3 separate regions of the Homo sapiens genome follow, and all the other regions are linked to region 1. Evidence: promoter capture Hi-C in 16 types of primary human blood cells and fetal thymus (Javierre and others, 2016). All regions are on one chromosome and are shown on one strand. The core of a region is centred on a gene start or on the middle of the fragment in contact, and the rest is flanking DNA. Distances in the headings are between cores, read along the strand shown. Region 1 holds the start of TBC1D2B (TBC1 domain family member 2B). Region 2 has its middle 14 kb from the start of DNAJA4-DT. Region 3 overlaps DNAJA4 (DnaJ heat shock protein family (Hsp40) member A4).

What was found. Contacts are between HindIII fragments. The CHiCAGO score rates a contact against its expected background, and 5 or more counts as called.
Region 2: a fragment that was not itself captured here is called in contact with the fragment with the promoter of TBC1D2B in region 1 in 4 of 17 cell types (total CD8 T cells, activated CD4 T cells, fetal thymus and 1 more); the score reaches 5.7 in total CD8 T cells.
Region 3: a fragment that was not itself captured here is called in contact with the fragment with the promoter of TBC1D2B in region 1 in 2 of 17 cell types (total CD8 T cells and non-activated CD4 T cells); the score reaches 6.4 in total CD8 T cells.

Annotation. Positions count from the first base shown.
Region 1 is chr15:78,074,555-78,078,970 of GRCh38, forward strand. It overlaps TBC1D2B (TBC1 domain family member 2B), which reads right to left and starts at 3,157. Exons shown (of 13, transcript NM_144572.2): 1 at 2,739-3,157. The coding sequence starts at 3,098. RefSeq lists silencers at 2,633-2,832, 3,033-3,242, 3,393-3,442. The HindIII fragment of the contact is 13,244 bases long and covers 1-4,416 here.
Region 2 is chr15:78,247,883-78,252,269 of GRCh38, forward strand. No RefSeq gene overlaps it. Among named protein-coding and RNA genes, the nearest start is that of DNAJA4-DT, 14 kb to the right of the region's middle. The HindIII fragment of the contact is 4,032 bases long and covers 44-4,075 here.
Region 3 is chr15:78,268,001-78,272,225 of GRCh38, forward strand. DNAJA4 (DnaJ heat shock protein family (Hsp40) member A4) reads left to right here. Exons shown (of 7, transcript NM_001130182.2): 2 at 2,497-2,677. Among named protein-coding and RNA genes, the nearest start is that of DNAJA4, 5.6 kb to the left of the region's middle. The HindIII fragment of the contact is 4,210 bases long and covers 1-3,954 here.

The DNA of each region.
Region 1 (4,416 bases), core at 1,907-4,406:
AGTCCAAGAAATAAAACACTGCAAAACAGGAGAAGCCCTGAGGCACCCATTCCCAATCACATCCTCCCTCTTCCCATCACAGGCAACCACTACCTGGAAACCAGAGCTCATCAGCCCCATAAAGCTCTTCCCCTCGCGAAAGAGCATACATCCTTATGATCTGTAGTACTGTTTCACATGATCTTCCTAACCTTTCTATAAGTGGTATCATTCTGAACACAATCAGTGTGTAACTTACTTCTTGTTCAATTTTATTGTTTGTGAGAGTAATCCACGTTGACACCTATAGCTCTAGTACCTTTGTTTACTACTGCATAATATTCCACTATATGAATACACTACATATTTGGCCAAAGACACTGCTTGATGTTTCATATGCCATGTAGTGCCTACTATTTTCCATACCACTATGGAAAATGCGCCAGCCATTTTCCATAACATTCTCCAGAATCCTCACAGCCACCTAATGAGGAAGGTATGATTCCCACTAGACCAAAGAGGAAACTGGAGCAGGGAACTGGTGTAATTTGTCCAATATGTGTGAGCAGCAGACTCCTGCTTCAAGTTCAAGTCCATCGAAGTTTAAAGCCACACTTCTGACAATGCGCCTTGTAACCCTGCTTATGTAGATTCTTATTTATTATTTTTTTTTTAATTTTTTTTGAGATGGAGTCTCACTCTGTCACCCAGGCTGAGTGCAGTGGCGCGATCTCTGCTCACTGCAAGCTCTTCCTCCCGGGTTCACGCCATTCTCCTGCCTCAGCCTCCCGAATAACTGGGACTACAGGCACCCGCCACCATGCCTGGCTAATTTTTTGTATATTTAATAGACATGGGGTGTCACCGTGTTAGCCAGGATGGTCTCGAGCTCCTGACCTCGTGATCCACCCGTCTCGGCCTCCCAAAGTGCTGGGATTACAGGAGATTCAGATTATTTTAATGAAAAAAACTGATAGAGTTCTACAGTCATCTGGGAAAAATGTGAAACACGATGCTCTATTTTCTTTAACAAACATCCCACAGGAAATTCGTCCGACACAGGGACAGCCCGTATGTACACTGAGGAAGAGCCTCTGCCTTTGGCAAAGGTCTCCCACTAGGGTCATTACCAAGTTTATACAGGCACTCTCTAAGTAAGCCTGTGTAGGACTGCAACCCGAGTTGGTTTTCTTTGGGGAAACAGGCTGTCTGCACCCACTTACAGACAGGACAGGGGAGCCCAAGAGAACATGGGAATCAGATCCTGCTTGAACTGGCAAAAGCTGAGTCAGCAAAGCTCTAAGAACATCTCCAGGGAGCAGCTCCAGCTGTTAGCAGCTCTGGGGGTCTGAGGAACAGTCCTCAGCTCACAAGGCCAGGAGTTTGCCTAGTCTGCTCTCCGTGTGGCCAGCTTTGAGAGCACTTTCATACATCCCAGCCCAACCCTGTTGCTCTGGAGAAAGCCCAACCTGGAATACGGAAGAGGAGTGAGAGTGAGGGTGGAGACTCACAGAAACCAGGCAGGGAGCAAAGCCTGGAAAAAGGATACCCAGCTCCAGGCCTGGGCCCAGATCCCTCCAGATGCTCAAAGCAGGTGGGCCCCTAGGAGGTGACAGTCTAGTCCCCCAGAACTCCCAAGGACAGGGGAGGCCTTTCAGCACCAGGACTCCTGACTCTACTCTCCTGCTTCTACACTGTATCTCTCATTTTGTCTGTCCACTGGAGGATTAAGGGAGCCTCAAAGGAGCAAGGCATAACTGGCTGAAAAGACCCCCTCCCACCCATCCTGGACAAAGCAAGGAGGAAGAACACAGGATCTGCCACCTACTGGCTGTGTGACCTTAGCTGGAGCATCCCCGTCCACTCTGGAGGAAAATGTAGTGGACTGTCTCTAAGGGCCCTGCCATCTGACTCTTTCTGTCTACAGTGCTAAATGCACTCTGGCTCACGCCTGGCATCCCAGCACTTTGGGAAGCTGGATGGGGAGGATGGTTTCGGCCCAGGAGTTCGAGACTAGCCTGGGCAACATAGTGAGACCCCCGTTTCTTTAAAAAAAAAAAAAAATTTAATTAGCCAGGCGTGGTGGCCCGCACCTGTGGTCCCAGCTACTTGGGAGGCTGAGGTGGGAGGATCTCTTGAGCCCAGGCATGGAGGCTGCAGTGAGCCGAGATCGCACCCCTGCACTCCAGCCTGGACAACAGAACAAGATCCTGTCTCAAAAAGAATAAATAAACAAATAAATAAAAGCACTGACATTTACTGAGCAGTTTAAAGTATAATTCATTTAATCCCAACACCCCATGAGGTAGATACTACTGTTATCCCATTTTACAGAGGAGGCCGCTGCAGCCCAGAGCGGTTCACTGAGGTACCAAGGCCATAGGCAAAGTTCTAAAGGAGGCCCCAGGGGTAGAAGCCTACGCTCACGGATGCCTGGGAAGGCTGCACAGGACATCCACGGGATGGTGGGGGTCGGGAGACACCAGAGACTGGCCCGAGGTTAGGCGCAGAGGGAGATAATGGGTCAAGGTGTCTGAGAAAGGAGACGGGGCTTGGTAGCCCCAGCGAGACTGGCCTAAGCCCAGATAGTGGGGAGGAGATAGGAACGAGGGCGGGATGTGGAGAAGCAGGGAAAGGCAGGCCGACGTGGGCAGGGGCGAGGAGGCCTTGGAGGAAGGAGGGTGGATGGCGCAAGCCAGTGGCGGAGGCAGGGGACGCCGGCGGAAGCGCGCGGGCGGCTTTGGGGCGAGCGGTCCCACCTTGAGCACCGTGACGGCTCCCGCGCTGTGCACCTGGAAGTGCGCGGGCGGCTCCGTGCCCGGCTCCGCCGCCTCGTCGGGGCCCTGGTAGCTGAAGCAGGCGTCCGCGATGTCCAAGTGGCCGAGGGGCAGCGCGTCCTGCGGACTCTTGAAATAGTAAAGGTAGCAGCGGCGCGCGTCGAACACGAACCAGCGGCTGCGGTAGCCACGCAGGGGGCCCTTGCCCGACAGCTTCTGCAGATAGCCACACAGCCGCGCTGGCTCCCGCGCCGGACCCGCCCCGGGCTCCGCGGCCGCCCCCTGCGCCGCGCCCTCGCCGCCGCCGCCGCCCTCCTCCGCCCGGGCTCCGGCCCCCGGCATCGCTACCGCGCGCCAACCGTAGGCGCCCGCGCCCTGCGCCTCCGCGCCGCGGCCGCTGCGCCCCCTACCCCCTCCGCACCGCCCCTTCGCTCCGCACGGCCCGCGGGCGCGCAAAGCACCCTGGGACTTGTAGTCTCGCCCCCGCCCGCCCGCCGGCCGTTGCCCCCTCAGCCCCCGGAGGCAGGGTCCTGCGACCAGCACCCCGCGGGTCAGTTGCCTTCGTGCCACCTGGGCTCCAAGTCCTCGCCCTGCCGGATGAAGCAATGGTCTATTTCTTTATGGCAGTGTAGGTACATGGGAGTGTGCATCTCTCAAAACCCAGCGGAGTGTCCGCTTAAAACTGCATTTCACACTGTGTATCTTATTCTAAAAACTTGATATTTAAATCTCCCTCCTGCCAGAGTCTCAAGCTAATATTGTAAAAATGAGACAGCCTATTGCCTGGTGCTGAGTGGGTGCTCAGTAAATATTTGCAGAATTCATGAAAGCCAAAGCGTTTCCTGCCTCTCCAGACCTCAGTTCATTTATTGAATTCAACATATATTTATTGAGCGCCTTCTGAATGCCGGGTACGGTTCTGTATGCCAGGCCCTGGCGGATACAGCAGTGAACAAACCAATCATTCTCCTGCCCTCGTGGAGGTTATATTCTAGTAAGGCAGGGAGGTGACACACAAGAAAGCAGATAAAAGTAATGTGTGCTATGTTGTATAAATGCCGTGATGACATGTAAATGATTACCGCTTAAAATAGCACCTAGTATTTATCAGTGCTTTATAGACTAACTTATTTGAACACTCACAACCTGAGAAGGCAAATCTATTGCTTTGTAATAAAGCAAAGAGAAAGAATGAATAAGACCAAGTATTTGCTAGCACAACAGGGTGACTACAGTCAAAAATAATATAATTGTACGTTTAAAAATAACCAAAAGAGTATAATACAGACGCGGTGGTTCACGCCTGTAATCCCAGCAGTTTGGGAGGCCGAGGTGGGTGGATCACCTGAGGTCGGGAGTTCGAGACCAGCCTGACCAACATGAAGAAACCCTGTCTCTACTAAAAATACAAAATTAGCTGGGCGTGGTGGTGCATGCCTGTAATCCCAGCTACTCGGGAGGCTGAAGCAAGAGAATCTCTTGAACCCCGGAGGTGGAGGTTGCAGTGAGCCGAGGTTGCGCCATTGCACTCCAGCCTGGGCAACAAGAGCAAAACTCTGTCTAAAAAGAAAAAAAAAAGTATAATAGGATTGTTTGTAACACAAAGGATAAATGCTTGAGGTGATGGATACCTTACTTACCCTGATTTGATTATTATGCA
Region 2 (4,387 bases), core at 810-3,309, 170 kb after region 1:
TGTCCGATTGGCATTTTAGAAAGCTGGATTCAAATATTTACCAAGCTTTCTGCATGCCAGGACCATGCTAGGCCAAGGGGAGATAGTGCAAAAGAGAGGTGCAGCCCCTGCCTTGGGTGGGGCTGTAGCATCATTGGAGGCCACTCCAGCTGCCACACTGGATTAGAAGACAGTGCAGGATGAGCAGATTATCACTAACTGGCAGCCCAAACAGAAGCAGTTCCTAACTGGCAGCTGCAGAGCTTTTGTTTAATTGAGAAAAGACTTATCTGAAGGGCTCAGAGGAGAGCACTTTTCAACAGCTGTGCCAGAGCCAGCCCAGCAGCCACGTGGCTACAGCAAATTTATGCCATGGCTGTCCACTGCCCTTTCTCAGCAGGGCAGCCTAAGGGTCTCATAGGAATGAGGGGTGGGGTGGGGTGGGGGTCACCTGAGGTTTCTCAAAGCACCAAGCAGGAGTCTCCACTGGTGGGAGTAGTGTGCTGGAAGAAGGTAAGAGGGGCATTGAGGTGCCACCCCCAGCCCATACCCCAGTTCCACTCCCAAGGGTATATCCAAGAGAAGTGTGAACATACATGTGCTAAAATATACACCCCAGAATGTTTGTGGCAGAGTCATAATAGCCTCAAACTAGAAGCAACCCCAATGTCCACCAAGAGTAGAATGGGTGGCTAAACTGTGGTATGTTCCTACAACAGAACACTGAACAGCAATGAGAATGAATGAGCCATCATGAAACCCAGCAACATTGATAATTCTCACCAACTTGATATTGAGCAAATGAAGCCAGATACAAAAGATCTATTACATGGCTCTGTGTACTTAATGTTCACAAAGAGGCAAAATGAATCTGCATGCTGGAAGTCAGGATAGGGTTCCCCTGGGGCAACCTGGAGGGCATAGTGATTGGGAGATGGCACAGGGGCTTCTGGAGTGCTGGCAATGTTTTCTTTCTGATTCAGGGCGGGGGTTAAATAGGCGTGTCTGCTTTGTAACAATTTATTGTACTACACACTTATGGATTGTGCATTTTCTTTGTGTACCTTATATTATGGTAAGTTTATTTTTTAAATTATTAATGAATGTACTACAGTGCTGGGGGTTATTCTGGTGGCTGTGTGATGTAGGAGGCATTGGCTTAGAGTTAGAAGGCCCAGGTTCCAGCCTTAACGTGCCTAGATTATGATGCTGTGCACACTGGGCAAGTTGTGGCCCCTTTTTGGGTCTCAGTTTCCTCTATCCATGAATTGGGAGGGTGTATATGTGGGTTATATGATTTTTGCAGAAATTCAGCAGAATGCTGGAACTGTAGCTAACCTGAGTCCTTATTTTAAAGAGAGAGAGAGAGAGAGAGAAAGAGAGAGAGAGAGAGAGAGCCCAAGACTTTGTTGGAACTGGAGATGTTTTCCTGCTTCCTTGTTACAGTGGTCATGCGATGATTTGGCTCCATTACTAACGGCCCAATTATTTGACCTTGGCCTCAGAGACAGGTGTGTGGTGGACTGGAAAGAACATGGTGGGTTTTGGCAGGGTCCCCACTTTAGCTGTTCCTGAACTTGGGCAAATTACTGCACCTCCCGCACTCTTCCTTCTGTTACTAGTAAAGTGCAGGCGCCCATGCCCACCCTACTGGACGGATGGGAAGATGAAGTGAAAAATGCCCCCAGCTGTTGGAAGCTGGGAGCCCTGGGAAAGCAGACCCCACCTTTACAGATCACAGGGACCTTATCCTGAGAGCCTCACCTCACCAAGGGGGGCCTCAGGCCTGCCCCTGCCCATGAGGCCCAGAGAGTGGGGGTTGGGGAGGGATCGCAGGGTGAGGCGGCTGCTCTATGGCCCTCTGGCGAGGGGCCTGGGCTAATGCCTTGGGGGTCTGTCATCCCTTCCATGTGGTTTCCCACTGCCTTGTGTGAACAGCAGATGCCAGGAGAGCCTTGATAAGCTGAATGGAGGTCCAGCCTTTCATACTGCGCACAGCTCAGTATGAGAGGACATGAGAAATGGGTAAGGATCTTGACGTGTGAGAAACAGCTGGAGAAACTGCTGGAGTTGAAGCCAAGTCGCTCAGAGAAGACCCCAAGAGCCATGGGCCACTGCTTTTGCAAATCCAATGGACTCTCCGGATTCTCTGGCCTTTTGTGTGGAGGCTAGTGTTTCTCTGTCTCTGATTCGTTCTCAGAGAATCCAAATCTGCTTATTTTAAATGGTTTTCTTTTCTAACTACATAAGGCACATATGTTCCCGTAAAAAAACTGAAATGCATAGAAAAGCAAAATAAGAAAACAAGGCTGGGTGTGGTGGCTCATGCCTGTAATCCCAGCAGTTTTCGAGGTCGAGGTGGGTGGATCACCTGAGGTCAGGAGTTCGAGACCAGCCTGGCCAACATGGTGAAACCCCACTTCTACTAAAAATACAAAAATTAGCCAGGTGTGGTGGCGTGTGCCTGTAATCCCAGCTACTTGGGAGGCTGAGGCAGGAGAATCACTTGAACTGGGGAAACAGAGGTTGCAGTGAGCCGAGATTGTGCCATTGCACTCCAGACAGGGCGACAGAGCGAGACCCCGTCTCATTAAAAAAAAAAAAAAAAAGAAAAGAAAAAGAAAGTAAGACTCAGCCAGATGCAATGGTTCATGCTTGTAATCTCAATACTTTGGGAGGCCGAGGTGGGAGGATAGTATGAATCCAGGAGTTCGAGACCAGCCTGGGCAACATGGCAAGATGCTGTCTCTACAAAAAAATTTTTTTTAAAATTAGCTGGGTAGGGTGAAGCAAGACTTCAGTCCCAGCTACTAGGGAAGCTGAGGCGAGAGGATCACTTGAGTTTAGGAGGTTGAGGCTGCAGTGAGCCATGACTGGACCACTGCACTCCAGCCTGGGTGACAGACCAAGACCTGTTTCAAAAGAAAAGAAGACTCACTCATCATTTCATCATCTGGAGATTGCTATTGTTAACATTTTTGTGTATGTACTTCAGATTTATATATGTGATCACCAGGTATATTTGATCAGCCAGGATGTTTGGTTGCAGGCAACAGAAACTGGCTCTGGCTAGCTACATTAGTTAAGGCACAGTTGGCTGCTGTACTAGGAAAATCCCCAAATAACAGTTGCTTTATACAACACAAATGTATTTCTTGCCCACATAAAGCCCGACACAGTGGTTCCTGCTGGATAGAGGGGAGTGGAGGCAGCTCTGGATCACAGTCACTCAGTACAGGACCCAGGCCAAGGGTGGCCCCACCCATTCAATGCCTGGCTTCCTAGGTGACCAGCCAACATGTAGCTAGCAGGCGGGCGAAGAGAGCATGCAGAGGATTCTGCGGACCTGAAGGGGTGTCCATACTGTTCCTTCTCTTTCCGTTGGCCAGAATTCAGTCACATAGCCATACCTAACAAAAGGCTGTTGGAGGACTCGCAGAATTGACAGGAGGCTGGGGCACCAGGCTTGAGATTGAGCAGTTTCCAGGGAGCTCCAGGGAGTCAGGAAGCAGGAAGCAATACACATGGCGACCACCTCGTCAGCCAGGCAGAGCCCACCTGTCACCCCCAGCCCCATCACAGCTGTCAAGAATCGCCTCCAATTCCTCTTGGCTCCTCCAATTCCTCTTGATGTCACTCTCTCAGGATCCAGTGTCCTAGAAGAACGCATCTATCTTGTTAGGAATCCCCAGATCATGCCCTCATCCCTGGCCGCACCAGGGCCAGGAGAGGCCGGATCTTGTCCCTGAACCTTGTCATGGGAGGCAGGCATTTCCTATGGCTGGGCTCACCCCTCTCCCTCCCCAGGAGAGATAATTTCTTTTTTCTTCCGGTTTTATTGCAGTAGAATTGACCAAAAAATGTATACATATTTAAGGTGTACAATGTGATAATGTGATATATGTATACATTGTAAAGTGATTACCACAATCAAGCTAATGAACACATCCATCCGCTCATATAGTTACTTTTTGTGTGTGTGGTGAGGACACTTAAGATCTACTCTTAGAGAATTCCAAGTATGCAACACGCTATTATTAACTATAGTCACCATTCTGTTCATTAGATCCCCAAAACTTATTCCTCTTACAACTGAAGCTTTGTACCCTTTGACCAACATCTCCCCTTTCCTGTCCTCCACCCCTCACCCCTGGCAACCACCATTCTACTCTCTGCTATGAGTTTGATTTTTCAAGATTCCACATATAAGTGAGTTAAAGCAGTGTTTGTCAATACTGACAAATAGACAATTTTCTGAGGGCCTGTTGAGAAAGAGGATTGGTGCTGGACAGTCAAAAATAACAATGTTTTCTATTATCTCACTATACTGTGTTATTGGGTCTGGGATCCTGCCCATTCTGCCAGTGCCCCCACCCACCCACGCACCTGCTGAGTGGCCATAGCTGTC
Region 3 (4,225 bases), core at 600-3,099, 190 kb after region 1:
TGCTGGGACCCTAGAGGATGGACTCCCTACTGGTAGTTGGAACCCCCATCCCATGTGAGATCTGGCCTCTGACTGAATGTCCCAAGCAACTGGGTACTCCTTTTCCATTCTTAGATCATTCTATTAAGTCTAAATGACATGTGAGTATCCAGGGTATTTGGTGAGTGTTTCCGGTGGACGTTCCCATGAAGTTATTTACCTAGTCCTGACCTGCAGATAGACGCAGAAACTGTCTAGGGGCAGCCTGGCCTAGTTGCTTTCTGATCTGTACCAGGCACCCAATCCTTACACTCTACCTCATGTTTTCTGCTGAGGAAAGGGATAGTAGTGAATGGTACTTACTTCTTCGCAGAAATGGTATGAGAATTAACATATCAAAAGATCTAGCTGCCTTATATATGATGCTGATGTCTTTTTAAGACTTTTCTAAATTGTAGTTTTTTAGCTATTTATTAGCTATTATTATTGGTTACTTATTAGATTTCAATCAGGGATCTGTAGAACAAGGGAATTAATGCCTCAAATTCCCTTGTTCTCTCTCTCAAATTCCTTATTTCATGGCACTTTTTTTCCCTGAATATTTTTTGGAGCCAGCTGCATTATAGGATCTGTTTATCTATATATCCATATTTGTCTCTCCGACTAAACTGTAGCCTCTGGAGGGCCAAGATCCTACCTCATTTATTTATTTCTGAGTTCCCAGAATCGAGCCATTCATCTAACAGGTATTTACCAAGTGCCTTCTACATGCCAGGCATGGTTCCAGGCTCAGTTAGACAGCAGTGGACAAAACCCCCCATCTTCATGGAGCTTATGTTGCAGTGGGGGCTACAGCATAAGCAGTAGATGATGCAGCTTGTTAGAAGGTGGTTCATGATATGGAGAAATATGCAGCAGTTGTGGGGGCTGGGAGGGTCTGAGGTGGGTTTGCAGTGTTAAAGCTGGATCACCAGGAGGCATCCCTGAGAAGGTGGTCTGTGAGCTAAGGCTGGAAAGAGATGAGTCGGGAGGCCGCACCAGGCTGAGGTGCCTCTGAGGCCCAGACTGCAGAGTTGAGGAACAGCAGGGAGCCTGCTGAAACTGGCATAGAATTGGGGTGGGGACACACAGGAGGAGAGGAAAGTACAGGTGCCAAGTTGGGCTTATAGATGAAAGTTAGGACTGGCTTTTACTCCCAGTGACGTGGGCCACCTTGTAGAGGTTTGAGCAGAGGATCGACCCAATTAGTGGGCTCGAGTGGAGAACACACTGAAAGCTGGGGTGAGGAGGGCACATGGAAGACCACGGAGGAGGCCACTGCAGTGGTCCAGGCCTGAGATGGTGCCTTCAGCCAGAGTGGATGTGGTGTGGTAAGAAGGAACAGATCTTGCATGTTTTCGCATTCTGATTTTATTTTAAAAATGTCCATATACCTGCAGAAAACATGAGTGATACAATGAACACCTATGTATTCTTCACCTAGCTTTACCAGTTATAAATAAGTTGTCACATTTGTTTTATCTATTATTATTATTACTGTTGGCTAAAGATTTTGGGAGGAAGCTACCTATAGCATAACCTTTCAGCCCTAAGTGCTGCGTGTTTCTCTTGGGCACAAGGACATCCTTGTACATAACCATAGTAAAGTTATCAAATTCAAGAAGTTTAACATTGGGAACAAAGATTCACATTTCTCCCATTGTTCCAATAATGTCCTTTGTAGCCATTTTTTTTTTTCTCCCCTGTGCAGGATCTGATCCAGGATCACACATTGTATTCGTTTTTTTCTATCTTTTAATTTTAGAGTATCTCTCAATTTGGGTTTTCTGATTCTTTTCGTACAATTGGGTTCCAGTGGTAACTTTTTGGCAGGAATGCTACACATGGGATATTGTGTCTGTCTTAGGGTACTGGAGATGCAAATGTGAAGGTAGCATCAGTGGGATTTGTTGACAGGTGAGATTGGCATTGCCAATAACTGTGATATGGGGAAGACTATGGGTGGGGCGGGGCTTTTGGGGGAGGATCAGGAGTATAGGTTTGTATCCAATGTCTGGCACGTGGTTAGATGCTCACAGATGCCTGTAGTTGAATTTCATTCTAGTAAACTAGTGAAATGATTCCCATGAGGAGGTGAGCCAGTGGTAATGCCCAGAGTCCTGGCTCTATCTGGTTAGAGGTTCACCCCTGGCACTGTCTCATGGTATCCTAGCTGGTCTCGACTTCCTGTCTGGTGCAGCCGGATTAGTGAGAAACTTTCCCTCTCTACTGGCTTCTCTCCCTTATTCTTATCGTGTCCCTACCACCAGTCCCTTAATATGTTTGCCCTGTGTTTCCCACTTTACCAAAGGAGTAGGTAGACAGGCAAGTCAGATTCCAGGTAGAGGATGTATAGACTGGCTAGTTCAAGGGTTTGGGGGCAGAATACCTCTATTACTTTGTATGTTTATATGGCAGGTTTGCTTAACAAAACAACTGAAACTTCTCTAAAAATCTCTCTCTCTCTCTCTTTTAAAGTTTAAACTCATATCCCAGGCATATGAAGTGCTTTCAGATCCAAAGAAAAGGGATGTTTATGACCAAGGCGGAGAGCAGGCAATTAAAGAAGGAGGCTCAGGCAGCCCCAGCTTCTCTTCACCCATGGACATCTTTGACATGTTCTTTGGTGGTGGTGGACGGATGGCTAGAGAGAGAAGAGGTAAATGCTTTTAAAGAAACATAAATAAGTTGTATGGTTTCCACAATTATACGTGTTGTTGGAATCAGGATAGATCATGCTTTAAAAGGATATGATTGGGCCAGGCGCGGTGGTTCATGTCTGTAATTTCAGCACTTTGGGAGGCCAAGGTGGGAGAATTGTTTTAGGCCAGGATTTCAAGACCAACCGGGGCAACATAGTGATACTCCCCATCTCAAAAAAAATAAAAATAAAAAACTTAGCCAGGCATGGTGACTCATGCCTGTAGTCTCCGCTACTTCTTGAGATGCTGAGGCTGGAGGAAAACTTGAGCCCAGGAAGTCGAGGCTGCAGTGAGCTCTCCAGCCTGCACGGCAGGGTGAGACCCTGTCTCAAACAAACAAACAAACAAACAAAAAACCCCACCAGGTACAATTGCCATGTTTTGAGATCATTAACTTTAAAGAGTTTATCACTTGTCTAGTGCTCAGGCTACCTGGAAACTCTTGGTAAATTTAGTAATTATCTGACACCCTCCAATACCATATGAAGTAGCGAATGGAGTGGTGGATAGAAAAGAGGAAGGTGAAGTTCATCGTGCCTTCTTTTCCTCTGTTGTTGGGGTCAGGCACCAGAGTGTGCTGAGGGATGTAGATGACGCCGCCTGTGGTTGTCAGTGATCCTTTACCGAGAGTGTTCCTCTCTCCTCTTGCCCACCCTCCCTTTGTGGCCCTCCATGTTCCCTGACCTGGGCGTGGGCTGCAGGCTCTCTAATTCTAGGTGGGTACTCTTGCCATGTTCAGTATGGCCTCATTTCCCAGCCTGCTCAGGGGATTTTCTAGGCAACAAAATTCATCTCTTTATGTTTTGAAATCTTTATAAATGACCTGCCTTTCTTTTCAGAATGCATTATGAGTAGTAGCAACTTCATCCCCAGGAGGTGAATGAGGAACTTCTTAGCCCTTAGCTCAATGGCCCCAGGCCACTGTTTTGACTTTCTCGGGATTTGTTCTTCCTAATTTTTCTGCATCTCACCTCTGCCAGGCTACGGGCTGTCACCTCTGTTGTTAGTAGTTGCTAATAGACTAGTTCCCATTCCCCCTGTTTAGTTTACTGTTGTCAGGCTGCTTTGGATCTTGAAACCAGAAAGATAACCAAGCGTATTACAATTCTGGATAAAGTCAGAAGAAATGAGCTCTGCCTTGGGGTTTAAGAAGTGTGGCTTTGGTCAGTGAGAGGCCCCTAGATAAATGAAGCTGCACTTGTTATCACATTGTAATTGACTTTGAGCTTGAAAAAGCTTGGGTGTCAATTCTGTGAACATAGAGTGCTGAAAATCACAAAGTGTTTATTAGGGAAAAATCCTTCCTCTGTCCTTTGAGCATATCGCCTGCTCCTATAATTGATGGTGTGGACATGATAAAACCTTGGGTACTTTGGGAGGCCGAGGTGGGTGGATCACGAGGTCAGGAGATCGAGACCATCCTGGCTAACATGGTGAAACCCCGTCTCTACTAAAAAATACAAAAACTTAGGTGGGCGCGGTGGCAGGCGCCTGTAGTCCCAGCT